6 separate regions of the Homo sapiens genome follow, and all the other regions are linked to region 6. The links are contacts of gene promoters, found by promoter capture Hi-C in blood cells and fetal thymus (Javierre and others, 2016). All regions are on one chromosome and are shown on one strand. The core of a region is centred on a gene start or on the middle of the fragment in contact, and the rest is flanking DNA. Distances in the headings are between cores, read along the strand shown.

What was found. The method cuts DNA at HindIII sites, captures the fragments that hold promoters and counts their contacts. A CHiCAGO score of 5 or more calls a contact.
Region 1: a contact is called between a fragment that was not itself captured here and the fragment with the promoter of RTKN2 in region 6, in 1 of 17 cell types (neutrophils). The highest score is 6.4, in neutrophils.
Region 2: a contact is called between a fragment that was not itself captured here and the fragment with the promoter of RTKN2 in region 6, in 1 of 17 cell types (neutrophils). The highest score is 5.3, in neutrophils.
Region 3: a contact is called between a fragment that was not itself captured here and the fragment with the promoter of RTKN2 in region 6, in 4 of 17 cell types (neutrophils, non-activated CD4 T cells, activated CD4 T cells and 1 more). The highest score is 7.3, in neutrophils.
Region 4: a fragment that was not itself captured here is called in contact with the fragment with the promoter of RTKN2 in region 6 in 1 of 17 cell types (total CD4 T cells); the score reaches 5.0 in total CD4 T cells.
Region 5: a contact is called between a fragment that was not itself captured here and the fragment with the promoter of RTKN2 in region 6, in 1 of 17 cell types (fetal thymus). The highest score is 5.1, in fetal thymus.

The regions. Positions count from the first base shown.
Region 1 is chr10:61,919,658-61,922,535 of GRCh38, forward strand. The region is part of intron 2 of ARID5B (AT-rich interaction domain 5B); the gene reads left to right. Among named protein-coding and RNA genes, the nearest start is that of ARID5B, 19 kb to the left of the region's middle. RefSeq lists an enhancer at 1,619-1,798. The HindIII fragment of the contact is 7,128 bases long and covers 1-2,878 here.
Region 2 is chr10:61,942,001-61,944,700 of GRCh38, forward strand. The region is part of intron 3 of ARID5B (AT-rich interaction domain 5B); the gene reads left to right. Among named protein-coding and RNA genes, the nearest start is that of ARID5B, 42 kb to the left of the region's middle. The HindIII fragment of the contact is 2,488 bases long and covers 105-2,592 here.
Region 3 is chr10:61,885,926-61,888,706 of GRCh38, forward strand. No RefSeq gene overlaps it. Among named protein-coding and RNA genes, the nearest start is that of ARID5B, 14 kb to the right of the region's middle. The HindIII fragment of the contact is 2,855 bases long and covers 1-2,781 here.
Region 4 is chr10:61,763,783-61,766,482 of GRCh38, forward strand. It overlaps CABCOCO1 (ciliary associated calcium binding coiled-coil 1), which reads left to right. Exons shown (of 8, transcript NM_001366906.2): 8 at 2,157-2,700. The coding sequence ends at 2,231. Among named protein-coding and RNA genes, the nearest start is that of CABCOCO1, 100 kb to the left of the region's middle. The HindIII fragment of the contact is 739 bases long and covers 988-1,726 here.
Region 5 is chr10:61,903,041-61,905,927 of GRCh38, forward strand. All of the region lies in intron 2 of ARID5B (AT-rich interaction domain 5B), which reads left to right. Among named protein-coding and RNA genes, the nearest start is that of ARID5B, 2.8 kb to the left of the region's middle. RefSeq lists a silencer at 91-410. The HindIII fragment of the contact is 4,018 bases long and covers 1-2,887 here.
Region 6 is chr10:62,267,307-62,270,095 of GRCh38, forward strand. RTKN2 (rhotekin 2) reads right to left here and starts at 1,538. Exons shown (of 12, transcript NM_145307.4): 1 at 1,245-1,538. The coding sequence starts at 1,304. All of the region lies in intron 1 of LINC02621 (long intergenic non-protein coding RNA 2621), which reads left to right. RefSeq lists a silencer at 1,290-1,619. The HindIII fragment of the contact is 2,285 bases long and covers 1-1,623 here.

The DNA of each region.
Region 1 (2,878 bases), core at 315-2,814, 350 kb before region 6:
AAAAATAACTGAATTCGATATTTCTTAAGTGAAATAATCTGTTCCTTGTGAATATTCTCTGTAATAGTCTAATAGTATTTTGTGCTCCTGGGGGCTGAGTGTGTTTTTAGCAACAATGCATTGGTTGTAAAATATGCATCCCTAACTATCTGGACAGACAAGAAAGAGGGCTCTAGTAAAAAGACTGAAGTTTTTTTTTTTAAATGCAGATCGTATGAATCACATAAATGGTGGTGTCTAAAAATTATCAACAAGCTCTGGGTTTGTTTTTATTTCTTTACATTATAGGTCCTCTTTCTCACTCCACATTTTTGATATTACTAGATCAGTAATTCAAGAGACAGCCAAGCAGGTGTTCACATCTCTCCTGACCCCCAGAATTCCTTAAATGACCCCTTGAGGCAGTGGAGTAAAAACATTCTCAGCATGTCAGAATATTGAGATATCTCAGTTGTCTTAATTTTTTTTTCTTTTTGCCTTAATCTTTACAGGCTTTTTGTGTGTCCTTTTTTCTCTCTGCTTAAGCCAAGAGGAATCTTGCTTCAGTCTTGGCCATGAAGATTGAGGGACAGGAGGACAGGGTCTGCAGATTGTACTTACAGTTAATACAGTTCTAACTGCTCAGCTGTGCCAGCTGACTTTTCTAATTGGTCTTTAAAAGATGAATCTTTGTTTTTTTTTTTTTTTTTCCTGAGAAGTTTCACTTTTGTTGCCCAGGCAGGAGTGCAATGGCGCAATCTCGGCTCACTACAACCTCCGCCTCCTGGGTTCAAGCGATGCTCCTCAGGCCTCAGCCTCCTGAGTAGCTGGGATTACAGGCGTGTGCCACCATGCCTGACTAATTTTTTTTTGTATTTTTAGTAGAGACAGGTTTCGCCATGTTGGCCAGGCTGGTCTCGAACTCCTGACCTCAGGTTATCCGCCTGCCTTGGCCTCCCAAATAAAAGATGACTCTTAAATGAGTAGATGGAAAAAAAAGGAAGATGGGGCTTGGAATTCTCATATGGTAGTTAAGGGCATAACATAATATTGCTCTTGAAAAAATATAACATTTATATTTTTAAATATGGGCCTTTGACTATAACCTTTTATTCAATTAAATTCAATCAATATTTATTAGGATGTACCAGGGTACTATGGGGGGTGATAAGGGGATGAATAAAATCAGCTTCTTTCTCTCTAGTTAGAGGAGATCAAACATGTTCAAGTTAGCCATACTTGGCAAGATTATATGGCCTCTTTCATACTGAAAAATACACTCACATTGTTAGATAGTATTCTTAGAAATTTCTATGGATACCCCTCCAAAATGAAAGATCTCTCATACAGGCAGTTGATTTAGGATTTAGGCAGTTGCATGAAGTATTTTACTATTGGTTTGTCGTCAACTCTGCAGAAAATTATCTAATTTCTAGGAATACTTGAAACATATTTAGCACCTCATTTTACAAACTTTATTTTATTGTCATACAATGGTGTGTAAATGTGTCCTGTGTTAAAGATGGTTGTATCGGTTATCTATTGTTGTGTAACAGATTACCCCAGATTTGGTGTCTTGTTAAAACAACACTTACTATCCACAGTTTCTGTGGGTGGCAAGTCTGAGTAAGGCTTAGCTGGGTGCCTCTTGCTAAGGGACTCTCAAAGCTCCAGTCAAGGTGTCCTCCCCAGCTGTGGCCATCTGAAAGCTCTGTAGAGGGAGGATCTATTAATACTTCAGACCCACTCACTTGCCTGTTGACAGGTCTCAGATCTCTCAGGCTGTTGGACTGAGGCCCTCAGTTCCTCTCAGGCAGTGGGTCTGGGTCTCCCTGGCTTCCTTGCTGGGCCACATGGGCCTCTCCATAGGGCAACTCAAACATGGCAACGGACTCCCCTCAGAGTGTAAGGTGTAGGAATGAGACACAAGCCATAGTCCTTTTATAACCTGATGCTGGAAGTGACATCCCATCACTTTTGCCTAATTCTGTTTGTTAGAAGTGAGGCATTATTGTCTAGCCCACACCCAAGAGCAGGAGATTATTAGGAGGTTGCATATAATCTCAGGGGACCATCTTCGAGGCCACCTATTACAGCTGGCAACAGAGCCAATCACTTCAGTGTACAGCTCATCTGATGAGGGTTGAAAGGTATTCTTCTTACTCTGTTTTACTTTTTTCCTTTTTTCCCTTTTATTAGTTGTTTATCTATTTATTTATTTTTGAGACAGAGTCTCACTCTGTCACCTGGGTCGGAGTGCAGTAGTGTGACCACGGCTCACTGCAGCCTCGACCTCCCTGGCTCAAGCGATCCTCCCACCTCAGCCTTCCAAATAGCTGGGACCACAGGCGTGCACCACTGTGCCCGGCTAATTTTTTGATACAGTCTCCTTGGATGGTTCCTCCCAAATATCTCCCCGCTCTTCAGGGCATATAACTATAGATGACATACACAGTAGACTGCAGATTGCCTAATCTTTTGAAGATTTGTTAGTCTTACAGCATGTCAACAAGCCATATCGGGTCTTTTTTACATCTAATGTCTTGATCATTGCATTTGGAGAGTTTTGCTGGAAAGGGCATTGTGTCTGGTTAGATGAGAAATCGGCAGAGAGAAATGAGGAAGGAGGATCCTGTAGCTGATATAAACAGGCTCCTTAATGCATAAGAAAATAGGCATGTTTGGGCCGGGCATGGTGGCTCACGCCTGTAATCCCAGCACTTTGGGAGGCCAAGGCGGGTGGATCACCTGAGGTCAGGAGTTCAAGACTAGCCTGGCCAACATGATGAAACCCTGTCTGTATTAAAAATACAAAAATTAGCTGGGCGTGGTGGCACATGCTTGTAGTCCCAGCTACTTGGGAGGCTGAGGCAGGAGAATCGCTTGAACCCGGGAGGTG
Region 2 (2,700 bases), core at 99-2,598, 330 kb before region 6:
CTTTTGTTTGTTTAATTTTGTGTGTGTGTGTTATGGAATATACTGTTACTAATAAAAAATTAAACAGGAAACCCACAGGGGACAAAAGGATGTGTAGATGGTTAAGCTTGATGTCACACATATAAACAAGAGTATTTATAGCAAGGTTTATGTTTAAAATTGTGTTTAAAATGGATAATTTATTAATGAACAGGAAAATAAGTCTAATTTCTTAATTCCACCCAAAGAAATAAAAGGTTGATCCTCTTGGATTCTAAAAAAAAAGAAGGTCCATATTCTACCTTTTTGCAGTTGATTCCAGAAGAAATTGGTTTATAGTGAATATTCACAGTACTTGCAGGTGGTTTGGCCTGGAAAATCTAGATGAGTGGTTTTTAAATTTAGTTGCTTATTAGACTCAAGAAAGAAATTTAAAAAACAATACTGATTACTGAGACCAGCTTTTCTAGATTCTTCATTCAGTAGGAGTAAGGAAAGGCCAATGAATGTGTATTGATAAAAAGGTTCCTGGCCGGGTGCGGTGGCTCACGCCTGTAATCCCAGCACTTTGGGAGGCCGAGGCAGGTGGATCACCTGAGGTCAGGAGTTCAAGACCAGCCTGGCCAACATGGTGAAACCCCATCTCTACTAAAAATAGAAAAATTAGTCACGTGTGGTGGCAGGGGCCTGTAATCTCAGCTACTTGGGAGGCTGAGGCAAGAGAATTGCTGGAACCTGGGAGGCAGAGGTTGCAGTGAGCCGAAATCATCACACCTTTGCACTCCAGCCTGGGCGACAACAGCGAGGCTCTGTCTCAAAAACAAAACAAAACAAAACAAAAAAGGCTTTTAGGTTGAGTCTGATTTTGTTTGTTTGTTTTGGTCTCATTTTGGAGACAGCTTTATGATTAGTGCTGAAGAAGGGAAAATGATCAACAGGAGAGTTGATTGGGAGGCTCTCTCCTGGGGCACAAGAAACACCATGTACTTAAAAAATTTTTAATGTAAAATACCCCTTTAAGGATAGAATTTAGGGCCTTGAAATTCTACTCAGTTGCTATGAACTGTGGGGAATTTGAGACAAATAGCTTTTGTAATTGGAATGCACACTGTGTTGTAATAATGTGGAAAGAGAAACAAAAACTTTCCTTAATGTAATGAGTTTCCATTATCTGCCTAATCTAAGGTTTGTAAGTCTACATTGTCAGGATTTATATTGAGGAGATAGGGGGTGTCATTTTCTGTACACATTCCTGTCCCCACAACTTTCTCTTCAGCCTCTTCTATAACATCAAAATATTTGTTGTCTGTACTTTTCTTTCTCCGCAGTGGTTTTCTTATCTCCTTTTCTGTTGGTCACACTGAAACCACCTCCAATACCACATTGTTAATGGAAATTCACACACTTATTAGGTTTTTCCTTCTGTAGAACCCTTCCAACTCCTCATTGTTCTTACCAAAGAAAGAAGATGAACTGTGAGATTATTTGAGGCCCCCCCCCTTTTTTTCTGGTGGAAGTAAGCAAAGAACGGAAAGATCTCACCTTTCTATGGATAAAGTAAAACTCCAACATGTTATCGTTTTTTAACTGAGTTATTTCATAATGTTGAAACATGAATAATAACAAAATAATTAGATTGGTTCTTAGAGAAGGGATTTTAAAATATAAAAGCTCATTAAAGCACTTTTCTTGCTTAGTGTTTAGGTAGAATAAGTTCGCTTTAATTCCAGTTTGTGTCACTTCCTGTCTCTCTCTGAATAGTAAAAAAAAAAAACAAGAATGTTCTCACAAATGTGTGTCTGCCAACAAATTAATACTCCACAAAGAGAAACTCTGCCCCACATGGCAGCTTCCAATAAATGCTCTGATTCAAATCACAACTCTTTCATTTTTTTTTTATCCCCTTCCCCCTTGAGGGAGCACATTTAGACAATATTTGAGGATGTCATCTTTCTGCTTTTTAAAACTCTCTAGAGTTTTCATTTAAGACTCTTAATGGTTGATGACTAAAACTACAGATCTGGATAGTGGAAAAACTAATAATCTTAAAAAACACTTCTGAAATGTGGTAAAGTGCATTCATTCTCTTCCCTCCTCTTTGTCCTTTTCAAAGAAAGAAAGTTCAATATGAAACCAATGCAAATTATGACTTTACTCAGTGAGATATTTTACCTTCTTTCAGACTGTTTCATACTGAAGTTTATAAAAAAAAAAGAAAAATAACTATGTTAAAATAGGAGGGTTAAGGAATGTATTATTCATAAGCATAATGAACACAAGAACCTGTTTTTCCAGAAGAATTGGGTTGATTAAATCATTCACCACACAAGCCTCTAGTTATTTATTTTTGTCTTTAGAATTACAGTACTTAGCTTTTATAATAAAGTGGACTTGATACCCATATTTGGTATGGCAGTTGAAAGTAGTCAAATGAAGAATTATTTCATTTTACAAAATTTTTAGTAAGTAAGGAATATAAACACTATCAGTTAAACATAGCAAACTTGCATTTTTTTATTCCTTGGGCTATAGTTTGAAAAAAAAATCAAATTATTTTATGTAACACTGATTCTTACAGAGTTCCTTTAAGCGAAGTATGAAAGCTGCAGTGTAAGCTTTATTGGCCTATAAATATGTCATTATAGTTGGACTACATTTATATGCTTTGGATTGTTGTTTAAGCCAAGAAAATATGTCTCTACAGGTTGACTTTTTATTGAA
Region 3 (2,781 bases), core at 168-2,667, 380 kb before region 6:
GCAGTTCCAGGTATATTGAGATCATTCTCAATATGTCTGGTAGCAACAGAGAATTCTTTATAGAAGGAGGTGGGGGCACTTGAGTTGGGTTGCAATGGATCATGAGAGAGAGAATAAGTAGAGGCATTTCAGAAACATAAATGTCATGAACAAAAGAATAATAGTCATAAAAGTTTTCTGTCTTTTCAAGATCCTGGTTCCCTCCATCTGAGATAGAATATTGATGATAACTCAATCACTGAAAGCAATTCCTCTGTGTCTGAAGGCATGCTGAGGTTAAGCAGAGACCCAAGGATTAGGGCACTGGGCACATTTTCTTTGGAGCCTGGTCACTATTCATTACCCTTCCTCAGGGCTAAGTCACTTATCAGTAGCCCATTCTTTGATTCACACACCTGACACCTTCTCACTCTTGTGTTAAGTACTATGTAGACACAACTTAGAGTGTCCAGCCACCTCCCTCCAACTGTGCTACTACCTCCAGGGCTCTACTATTTAGAAGTTCTAAAGTTGCCACAGATTTAGGACTTCTGCCTTTATATTTCCCAGCTACTAAATGATGAGGAACAGCGACATACCAAGGGTAGAGACCCTCAGAGAGGTAGAGAAGATCAATGTTTATAGAGACAAGTATTGGAAGGAGACTGCGTGCCAAGCAAAATCTCTAAATTACCAAAATTGAATTGAAGTGACTTTCTCTCAGGCTCCTCCTCGGGTGGGATAGGCTTTGTGTGAGATACAAAGGAAAAAGAAATCTACTAGTAAAGCACTTTCTATCTGGCAGAGAAGTTAACTGCAAGGTAAAAAGTCACACAATATAGCTGTTTACCCATCCCGAGTTCCCTCAGGGCTCGATCTCAATGAATGGTTTTATTTTTAACCAGAAGATCTAAACTGATCTTCTGTGTTGGGCTAACTAGCTAACGTTCCTATCCATAGGAGATGGTGCTTTAATGCCCAAAGGCCAACTTTATTCTTTCATTTCTGAATCCTACAAATTATTTACATCCCCTTAGAAGCTGCCTTCTCAGTGAACTTGGAGCAAGTTATTTAAATCTTTTTGTGCTTCAGTTTTCTGAACTGTAAAAAGACAGAGTGCTCACATCAGAAGAGTTGTAAGGATGAAAAGAAATCATTTAAAGTATTTAACAGAGCTCCTAGCCCATAATAAGTGCTCAATGAACGTTAACAATTAATTTTACTTTAAACTCACTCTGGTTAGAGTCACTGCCTGTTTTGCACATATGAAAAAAGTTTTCCAATGGCTAAGGCAAGGAAGATCTAGGGGTTTTTGTGTGTGTGGTTTTGTTTGTTTGTTTGTTTCTTTTTGTGACAGAGTCTCTTTCTGTCACCCAGGCTGGAATGCAGGGGTGCATTCCCGGCTCACTGCAATCTTGACCTTCCAGCTTCAGGTGATTCTCCCAGCTCTGCCTCCTGAATAGCTGGGACCACAGGCACACACCACCCTGCCCAGTTAATTTTTTCATTTTTTGTGGAGAGGGGCTTTCACCATGTTGCCTAGGCTCGTCTTGAACTCCTAGGCTCAAGCGATCCAACCGCCTCGGCCTCCCAAAATGTTGGGATTACAGGTGTGAGCCACCTCACCTGGTCTATTTTTATTTTTTATATAAGTAATACATTGGAAACTACCAAACACCACAAAGAAATCTGTAACTGTCTTAATTCTACTATTGACATAAACTTATGTTTTAAGTTAAAAACTATTTTCTTTTTAAACTTAACATTATTTTGAACATCTTTCCATGTCAGTAAACATGGTTCTATTACATTCTTAATATCTGCATATTTTTTATTAGAGTTGTACCATAATTTATTTAACCAATCCACCATTGTAAATTATTTATGTTGTTTCCAACTTTTTGCTATTTTAAACAATGTTCTTACATAAATTTTATGCATTCATTTTTTGTGAACTTCTCCAAAATTGTCCTTAGGATAAATTCATGGGAGTAAAATTTCTGGGTCTAGCAGTATGTTCCAAGGGACTTATTACATACTGTACTGCCAATTTGTCTTTCAGAAGGACTGTACAAACTGGCACTCCCACCAGCAGGGCAAATTCCATTTTCTCACTTCCTCCCCACCACCAGCCACTATTTAAAATATTTGCCAAGTTGGTGGGTCATAAACATAATTTTATTTTTTAATTTTAATACATTCAGCAAACATTTTAATTTTTTCTTCTCTAAAATCCTTTACAATGCCATCAAAAACTTGGTAAAGTGTGTTCTTGAGAGCACAGACCCTGGAGACTGACTACTCGAGTCTGAATTCAGTCTCTGCCTCTGAATTTAATGATTTCAAGCCAGTTACATATCCTCTCTGTGCCTCAGTGTCTTCATCTAGAATGAGAACAATATTAGTGATTGCCGTATAGAGTTAGATGCATGCATGTAAGCACTTAAGGCAATGGACTACTCTTATTGTTTGTCCATTTTTCAGTTGGCATGTTGGACTTCTCTGGGTGGGTATGGTGAGAAGGCAAATTGAGGGACATCCAGAAGAAGTAATGACATAAACAAAGGCACAAAGAGACATTAAGTGTCATGTTAACTCCTACATTTAAATCTTCCCAATATTTTCATGTGTTTTGAAGAACAAAGAACAAGAATGGTTTCATGCATTGTTTTCCACTTCATGAAACCCAATTTAAACCATACGAAACAAGCCTTGACATGTTGTCAACATGAACTTTTCTTGGTCTATGCATGACACTGTCCCTCCAGGTCCAGCAGTTCCCAGTTGTGCTGTCTTTCACCT
Region 4 (2,700 bases), core at 107-2,606, 500 kb before region 6:
TTTTCCTTAAAAAAAAAAAAAAGAACCAGACCCAACCATAGTATTTGCAGGATTGCTTGTCTGTTCAGCAAAGTTCTGAAGAATGACAAGGAAACACGGCTAATGACAGCCTGTTATTGACTAGACGTGGAGCCTTTAGATCCAAACTCTGCTGGTTGTGACTGAACTAAAGTACTAAGCCTAAGGTCTGGAGATCTGAGACATTACTCACCTCTGTCAGTATGCCACTCTCTTAGCTGCCCCTTCATGAACCTTTTCCCAAGGCCTACACTTGTTTTGATAAATTCTGTCTCGGTAAAATACCAGAAAGGCCTCCAAGTGAATGTAAAATCCCTATGTGGTAGTGAAACAGAAACTGGTAGATGATAAGCACATCAATCCTTAGCTGAAAAGAAATGAGATTACTGGTGGGCATAGAGGGACATTAATTGAAAGTGGGAAGAATCGATTGTTTGAGTGGCGCAATTCTTCCCAATCCTTTGAAATTGTGGTAAAATTATTTCAAACCATTTTAATCCCTATGTGGTCCAATATGTTGTATCCCATAAATTTATTTTAATAAGGCAGGAGTAACAGATTTTTAAGTATTTCATGACATCATAACAATGAAAGATAACATTGGTGAAGTATATCACAAAATTGGAAGTTGGAATTATGAATTCAAAAACTAAAGTTTGATATTAACATAATCCTATTCCCCTACTTAATTTTTAAGGTAAGAGCTAAAATCCAGGTGGTGAAATGACTTACCTAAGGTGACGTAGCTGAACTAGTACCTAGATCTTCCCAGTCCAAGATCAGTGCTTCTTTCGACCCTACCTAAAATCATGCATAGATGATGATTTCTTTAGAGTCAGTGCATCCTAAAGGAAGAGTTCCTCTGTGACCTGGAGGACCGCTCCATCCCTCCTTGCCTCCTCCACCCAACCACCAAGAAAGGAAAAGATAAGAAACCAGAGGCCGGAGCTTGATCCCAAGGTTTACTAAAGCTTGAACCAGAAAAGACTGATACTTATGTGAGTTCTGAACCCAGAATTGTTGGCACACATACGATCTTTCCAGAAATATCAAATCTTACTGTGAGGTGAAATCAAATCTCATCAGATAAGGCAGCATGGACATGTCACAACTATCTGTTATAGTTACACTCTTGTAAATAAATATGAAAAATTATATCTGGGCTTAAAACAGTATTTGATTTTTTTAAATGTCTTCTATCTAAATTAAAATAATAAAAGGTTTGCAAAGTACAGTTACCCTGAAGCCCTCAAATAATGTTATAGCTATTAGAAATCCAAACTTTGAATTTATTAACACATATGTGTATAAGCTACTCCTTATACAGCGGTAGACATTTTAAAAATCACCTAAACAACAACAAAAACATCAATTTTGCCACGTCAACCACCACTGCTTTTTCTGTATGTAATTTTATTATCCCTTGTGAAAAAGGGAAGACATTTCCAGGGCTACTAATGTTCAGTTAATGTGAACGTATTTATGGAATTGTGCAGGTAGCAATGTGAGTCCACAGAAGATCGCTGCCAGAGGCAAAATGCTATCACCACCTCGGCAATCACAAAACCTGAGAGCAATTGCTTACTTTTTTTACCAAAAATATATCAGAAAGTGGCATCATTCCAAGAGTTCTAATGTATGATGAATACTCTTAATTATGGGAGTTGTTCTAATTGTAAGGTTATTTGTGTTGTTATTTCACAACAGAAGCTTCCTGGGATCTCATTTAGAATGTATTACACGGGAGACACAGACATCCATTGCAGATGGTGGAGGGACCCACAGCACTGCAATAACTGAGCCCAAAGCAGTTATTCTGATTCAGTGCTTATTGGTAAAGTCTGTCTGAAAATACAGATAAATTATCCTATCTTCCAACACAAGGCTTTGTGAAAAATGGCTGTCCAAATACCACTTCCTGTTCATAGCAGACATGCTATACATTGGAAATGTGCAGAGAAATATGATAAAGTGTTATCACATCACTACAGGCTGAAACACAGCTATGTCTGCAAAACAGGAAGGTGTGTGAGGGATAATATCTGTCTTTAGGCACTATAGTATGTCAAAACCACAAAGACAATGTGCAGCAAAAGATAGCTCCATCATAACCACGTTTTTTATGATTGTCTTCACAGACCGAGATAAACGAAAAACTGCAAATACAGGAAGAGGCCTTTAATGCACGAATAGAAAAATTGAAAAAGGCCTAAGGACTTGGTACAAGGAGAGTGATGCTAAACTTCACAGAAACAAACAAAACCAGCCAGAATAACAGACTCTCTGGAGCGTCGTGTCTCCATCACTTAGTTGTGAAAGGAAAACCAAGCCCCACTTTTTATTTTCCTAAGTAATTAGAAAAGTATTGGTCCCAATTTTGCTATCTCCCATCCCATAACAGCCTCTGAATTTATTGCACCAAGTGTAATGAGAACATTTTGTATACAAGAGTTTGAAAAATTATATATAAAAATACAATTACTTTTATGATAGTCCTTTGACGTTTTGACTAATAAATCCTATTCATCTTCAAGGAGAATGAAGTCAACTTTTTAAATAACCAGAAATAAAGAAAGATGATAATAACTTCATCCATTTTGACCCAAACGGACTGCCACGTTACTGGAACACTGTGAAAACATACCAGTACCACACTATTGAGGATAAAATTTGTTAAACAAT
Region 5 (2,887 bases), core at 203-2,702, 360 kb before region 6:
AAACACGTTAAGCATTAACAACTATCTCTCGCCCACTCCCCCTCCCCCCGGACAAGCCATTTGATGTTCTAGTTTGCAATTACTCCACGCAAAGTGGACGTCCTCCTGCGCGATCTTTGGGGGTGTGTGGGACGGGGGCGGGGGAGGGGAGGGCAGAGGGGTGTGTGCTCGCCCACTGGCCCTGCGGGTCCAGCGTTCTCCGTGCCCAGACGGCGCTCCCGGGGAGGGCGGGGAGGGGACAGAGCCTCCCCGGCACGTTTCTGGGCGGCCGCGGGGGCGCTCGCCGCGCTCCCGGGAGGACGCCGGAGGTGAGCCCGCTGTCACTGGGCGCCGGGGCGGCCGCCTCCCTTCGGCTCTGTCATTTCATGTGTGACCGCAGTTCTGCGGGCTCCCCTCCTCAGCTGACCGACCTCAGCGCCGTGGTACCTACCGAGGGGAACTATTTTGGGGAGTCTGTGCCCACGGCGCAGCGGGGAGGGAGGGCGCACTGCCGCCTGGCGAGGCTTTGTGTTGCCAAAGCGAGAGCAGGGTAATCAAACAGACTTTTGAGGGCAGCTAGTGCTGTGCCAGGCTCTCGAGCTTTCGAGGTAGGTGTAAGGATCTAAGGATCTTTTTGTTAAATGAATGGTTTCCCGTTTAACTCATCCCGGGGCTCGGAGCTGCCAGTCCTTCCAGAATTCCTCGGTTTGATCGAGTTGATAGTACTTTTGGCATTGCTAGTTCACTCCCTCTCCCCAGGATCGAATTACTCGTCAGTGGTCTATGCCGGTTAATTACTGGAGTTCGTCGAAACGTTCGCCCTCGAATCTGCCTTTTCGGAAATAAGCCCCTCCCACCTCCCCGCTCACCTCCCCCCTCCACCCTCCCCGGCCAGCTTTGGTTTTTAAATGTTCATATTTCCCGACGTCCGCCTGCAATTTTAAAAAGGTGTTGTTTGGAAATACTGTGAAAAATCCTGCAACCTACCAACAGGTTGAGCTCTTTCCCCCTCCCAAGGTCTGGCTCGGCCCCCTCCCCCGACCCAACTTTCCTGCGCAGCTGTCTTCCTCCCCCTCCCTCTCCCCCTCCTGATTTCTTATTATTTGCTTTTCAAATTTATTACTTCAACATGGCCTGTGATCTGGAAAAGGGAAGGATTAAATATCCAGAAAAGAACTGGTGCTTAACAGACTTCTGACTAAGTCCAGGAGGAAATTATTCAGTGTTTTATGGGATATTTTGTGGTCACTCTTTTTTGGGGGGCGGGGAATTGAAATTGGGATGTTTTTTAAAGACCCTGAGTTGACCCCACTTGGTACAGTTTTAATTTTTGTTGGTGTAATTAAATGGTGAATTCTGATTTAAGAATAAAGGCTATATTTGCCAAACGTTGCATCTGCTAGAAGTGTTGACAGTGAATAGATATATTTTTAAATACACGATTTCTTTTTAATTGTTCATTATGGGGAATTGAAAGGGAACCATTGTAATGATCTGTGCATTTCGTCACTGCTATATGAGCCATACCTGAGAAAATTAATCTTGCCATTTAAAAGTAAACTCTAGGGGGTTTGCGGAGGGAGATGGCTCTATTTATAATCCTCAGCTGCATATACATCGTCTAATATTATGCATGATTTGTTTTTTAATGCTAACACGGCTGGTAATTAGCTGTATGATTATACTTGTATATTTCATTAGGACTTTGGCTGATGTCATTGTGAATTATTCAGCCATATTAAAACAATTTTCAATTGAGATAATGACACGCCTCAAAATTATGCAAATGCAGACTGCATTGTGCAAAATAATTATGACAAATGTAAAGCAGGTAGAAAGTTTCCCAATGCAGATCGGTTTTCCACCCTGGTGATGTCATTTCCCCCCTGGCCTAAGTTAGTCATTCATTAGCAGAATAGCAGCAGCAGTCTTCTCTGGAGGAGAGCCTTACAGAAACCAGCATTTACTGCTGGCACCTAGAGGGGGCAACAGGGCCCTCTCATTAAGAAATTTGCTTTGTTTTCACTTATTCCATTAACTTGTTTATATACATTTAAATGATTTTTATTATTGATTTTAAATAGTTTTGAATGATGCATTTGCCATTTGCAATGTGTAACTGAAAGAGAAAGGTTTCTTGGTGATATGCACTGTTACTTGGAGAAAATGTTCAGCACATTTAATCAGCCAGTACAGTTTATTTTAAGTAACCAAATGGAGATTAATAATTTCTTGATTGAGCTGACATCAGCATCCATTTCGAAAGGACAGCCAGGACTCAGTATGCTTTTTTTGGTTTAAGAGAATCATTCTGCCTTTTTATGATTTCTTGAAATGTAAAGACGTCAGTTCTAAAAGCAGAAAAATGATCATTGTGCAAGATTAGAAATAGCGTCCCTGTGTGGTTTGCTGTGATTTGCAGAGGGTTTTTTTTTTTTTGGAATATTTTCTCATGATTTTTGTAATAAATTGTGGGAGGCTGGATAAGGCAGGACTTTGTACACCCATTTTACAGATGGGGACATAGACTCGGAAAGGTTATGTGGTTTGTCAAAGGTCACCAGGCTAGAACCCAGGCCTCCTTGAAATTCAAGGTTATCTTTTCTCCCCAGTGAAACCTACCCTTGAAAGCAGAGCTTGAATTCATCATATTACATTCTAGAAGTGTGTACTAATGTGAACAGTCCCTCAGACATTTTAGAATTGTAACTAGTTAATCAGTTTTGCCAAAGGTCACCAGATGTCTAGGTAGCAAAACTATCCTTATCCTGTAAAGTTAAGCTAATTCTAATCAGTGGTATATAATGATAACAGTTATATTTTAATAGTTATTAATGAGCATTAACAACTTACTATTCATTTTAATGATGATGGTGATGATTTATATGCTTATATACACCAATGCCTT
Region 6 (2,789 bases), core at 288-2,787:
CCTCTTGTCGCTTCTGTACCATTCCTATTCTTGCAGCCTGCAGCTCAATAAATACACCTGGACAGCTACACCTACACCTATATGATAGGTGCAAGAACATCAATAGAATGGCAATTCACTATAAATCAAGATTTTGTTAGCAATCAGGACAGCCAAAGTACATAACAGGACAGGACTGAAAAAAAGTACATCAAAATCTTTGAAATTTTTGAAAATGCTGGCATAAAACAGCATAAGTATTACTGATAAAGACACTGGACTTCTTTTGCATAATGAATCTTAATGTCTTGCTTTATTTTTCACAGTATTATTGAAAACTAATAATTTTGTGTCTGCTAAGGAAATCCCAGATTTTTAAACAAAGATATCAGGTGCCTCCATATGAATGAAATTGCAAATATTCTACCAATTTTGACCTACAAAACTGGCAATTTCATATGGCTTAACCTATTTCTGAAGTAGGTAAAAGAAGGTAGAGATTAAAATAGAAGTGAAGGTCCAGCTTAAAGACATCAGAGTTTTCTTTTAAGACCCTAAAGTTATGGTTAAGAGTGAAAAGTGGTAACATTTTAATAACTGATGCTGCCAAGAAATAATGTTGGTTTAGTAAAAAGTAAAATAAAAAGGTTTCTAACGCATTTTACATGGCTCAAAAGCAAACATCAAACTTCTATCCAATGTCACGTGTACTCCCTCTTTCCTTTCAAATGATTTGAGAAAGAACCCAGTATCAAACCTTCAACTTTTTCTAAAGTGCAGAGGTTGCTGTTTGCCTCTACTCCGCTCCGAACCCCCTCCCCCCAACCAGTTCTGTGTTGTGTGTAGACATCGCTCCATTACTGTGCTTCCCATTAAATCCGTAATAAGCCAGCTGTCCACTGGCCTCGCTGGGTTTCTTGGGAATCGAGGGGCTCCCATTTCCCCGGCATCACCTACACCTGCAAAAAGACAGGCGTCCAAAGCCTGGGGAGGGCAGCGGACAGGTGCGCCCGCAAACGCGCGCCTGGACCCCGGCACCGCCTTCCCAATCCGGACCTCAGCTGCCTGAGAAACTCGGGGGTTCCGATGTCCAGGCCCTTTAGAGCCCCAAGAGCGCAGTCTCCTAATCCCTCCCTTTGTTTCTGGCCACCGCTGAAATAGAGGAGCGGGGGAGAGGCTTTCCCGACTCCTCCACAAAGCAAATGCGCGAGGAACAGAACCCCGGCTCCCTCACCTTCCGCGGCAGGGTCCCTCCCGCAACTCACCTGCTGGGTGGGAAGCCCCGCCAGGCGGAGCGCAGGACCCCTCAGGCTCGGCCCCTCCATCTCCAACGCGAACTGTCCGGGCCGTCGCCACTCCTTCAAAGGGAAGATTTGAAAAGCCCGCCCCTGGCAGGAGCCGCAGAGGACGCCAACCGCCCGGCCGTACCAAGTCCCAGTCGCAGGGGCCGGGGGCGCAGGAGGAGCCGGGCCGAAGCGCACGCGCAGTGGGCGCGCCTTGCGCTCTGCAGCTCCCGCCGCCGGAAGTTGCCGAGACCCCAGGCTCTAGCGCGGCGGGGCGGGGGAGAGGGCGGCGGTGCCGGACTTAAGTCCCGGACAGGGATGTGGGCGGGCCTGGGACGGGAGTGGGAGGGGCCGCGGGGAAAGCTTCGGCGGCGGAGCGCACCTGTCCCAGCTCAGGTTTCTGGCTGGTGGTTTTCGTGGCACGCCCTTTGCACTGGGAGCTTTCTGCCCGCATCCCACCGAAGGCCTTCCAAAGTGATCGTAGCTGGACAGACTCGAGGCTGCAGTCCCTGTACTCCCAGACAACTCAGGAACCCACAGCGTCACTAAGAGCCCACGGTCTCGTTCCTAAAGAACCAATAACATTACTCTCAAACACAGCGCTCTCTGTTTCCTCTCACCTTTCCCAGCGTTGTCACCAGGGTCACCCAGATATCATGGTTTTATTCATCAGGTTCGTGAGATACTATGTCAGGCATTTCACAAGGTCTTGTCTTTGCCCCCAGTGTTTATAATCCCAGATGTTCCCCGCCAACTACTCTGTCCACTTACTTTGTTTTCTTGCGAAGGATTTCTTTCAGCTCTCTCGCCCTCTCTTTCCCTCTCCAACATCTAAGGTGATAGCAAAATGGGGTACTATTTCTCAAGAGCCTCATTTCTTGCTGCCCTAAAGATTAGCACAAAGACCCATTTTAATTCATGGATTTTGTTAATTATAAAGGGAAACATGGGATTTTTAAAAATCAAAATGAAAGCAGCAAAGATATCACACCCTTGAAAAGTCCTTAAAATTCATTGTCCCTAGTTTATCTTTATTTCCCCCTTGAAAAGGCAAGAGGAAGCCTCTTCTTGAAGAGTCTACCAAATCAACCCTCCAGCCCTCATCGCCTAGAAACCCTTGGGCATTTTTCCTCCATAAATAGGTGCCCATGTTTTTTCATTTGCCTGGGACAGACCCTGTCTGGGTCTGTTGTCCCAATGTTGCACCAATCTTGCACTTATCCCGTAGTGGATATTATGTGGTCATTTTAACTGCAAGACCCTTTTAAAAGCAGTTGGTTTGAGAATGTACTTTAAAAATATAATGGATACCCTTCCTCAAATAGGTAAAATGCCTCTTTAAGACCTTTTGGACTAGGTGATACTAGAAGCTTCCCAGTTGGGAATGATGGTCCCCTTGCATTATGAATGACCCATATCCTTACAACAATAAAATATGTGTTCAAAATTATCAACACGGAGCTCACCTCGTTTTCTACAAACACAGGTCTGAATTTCAGAATCATTATGTGCCCTTTCCTCCAATGC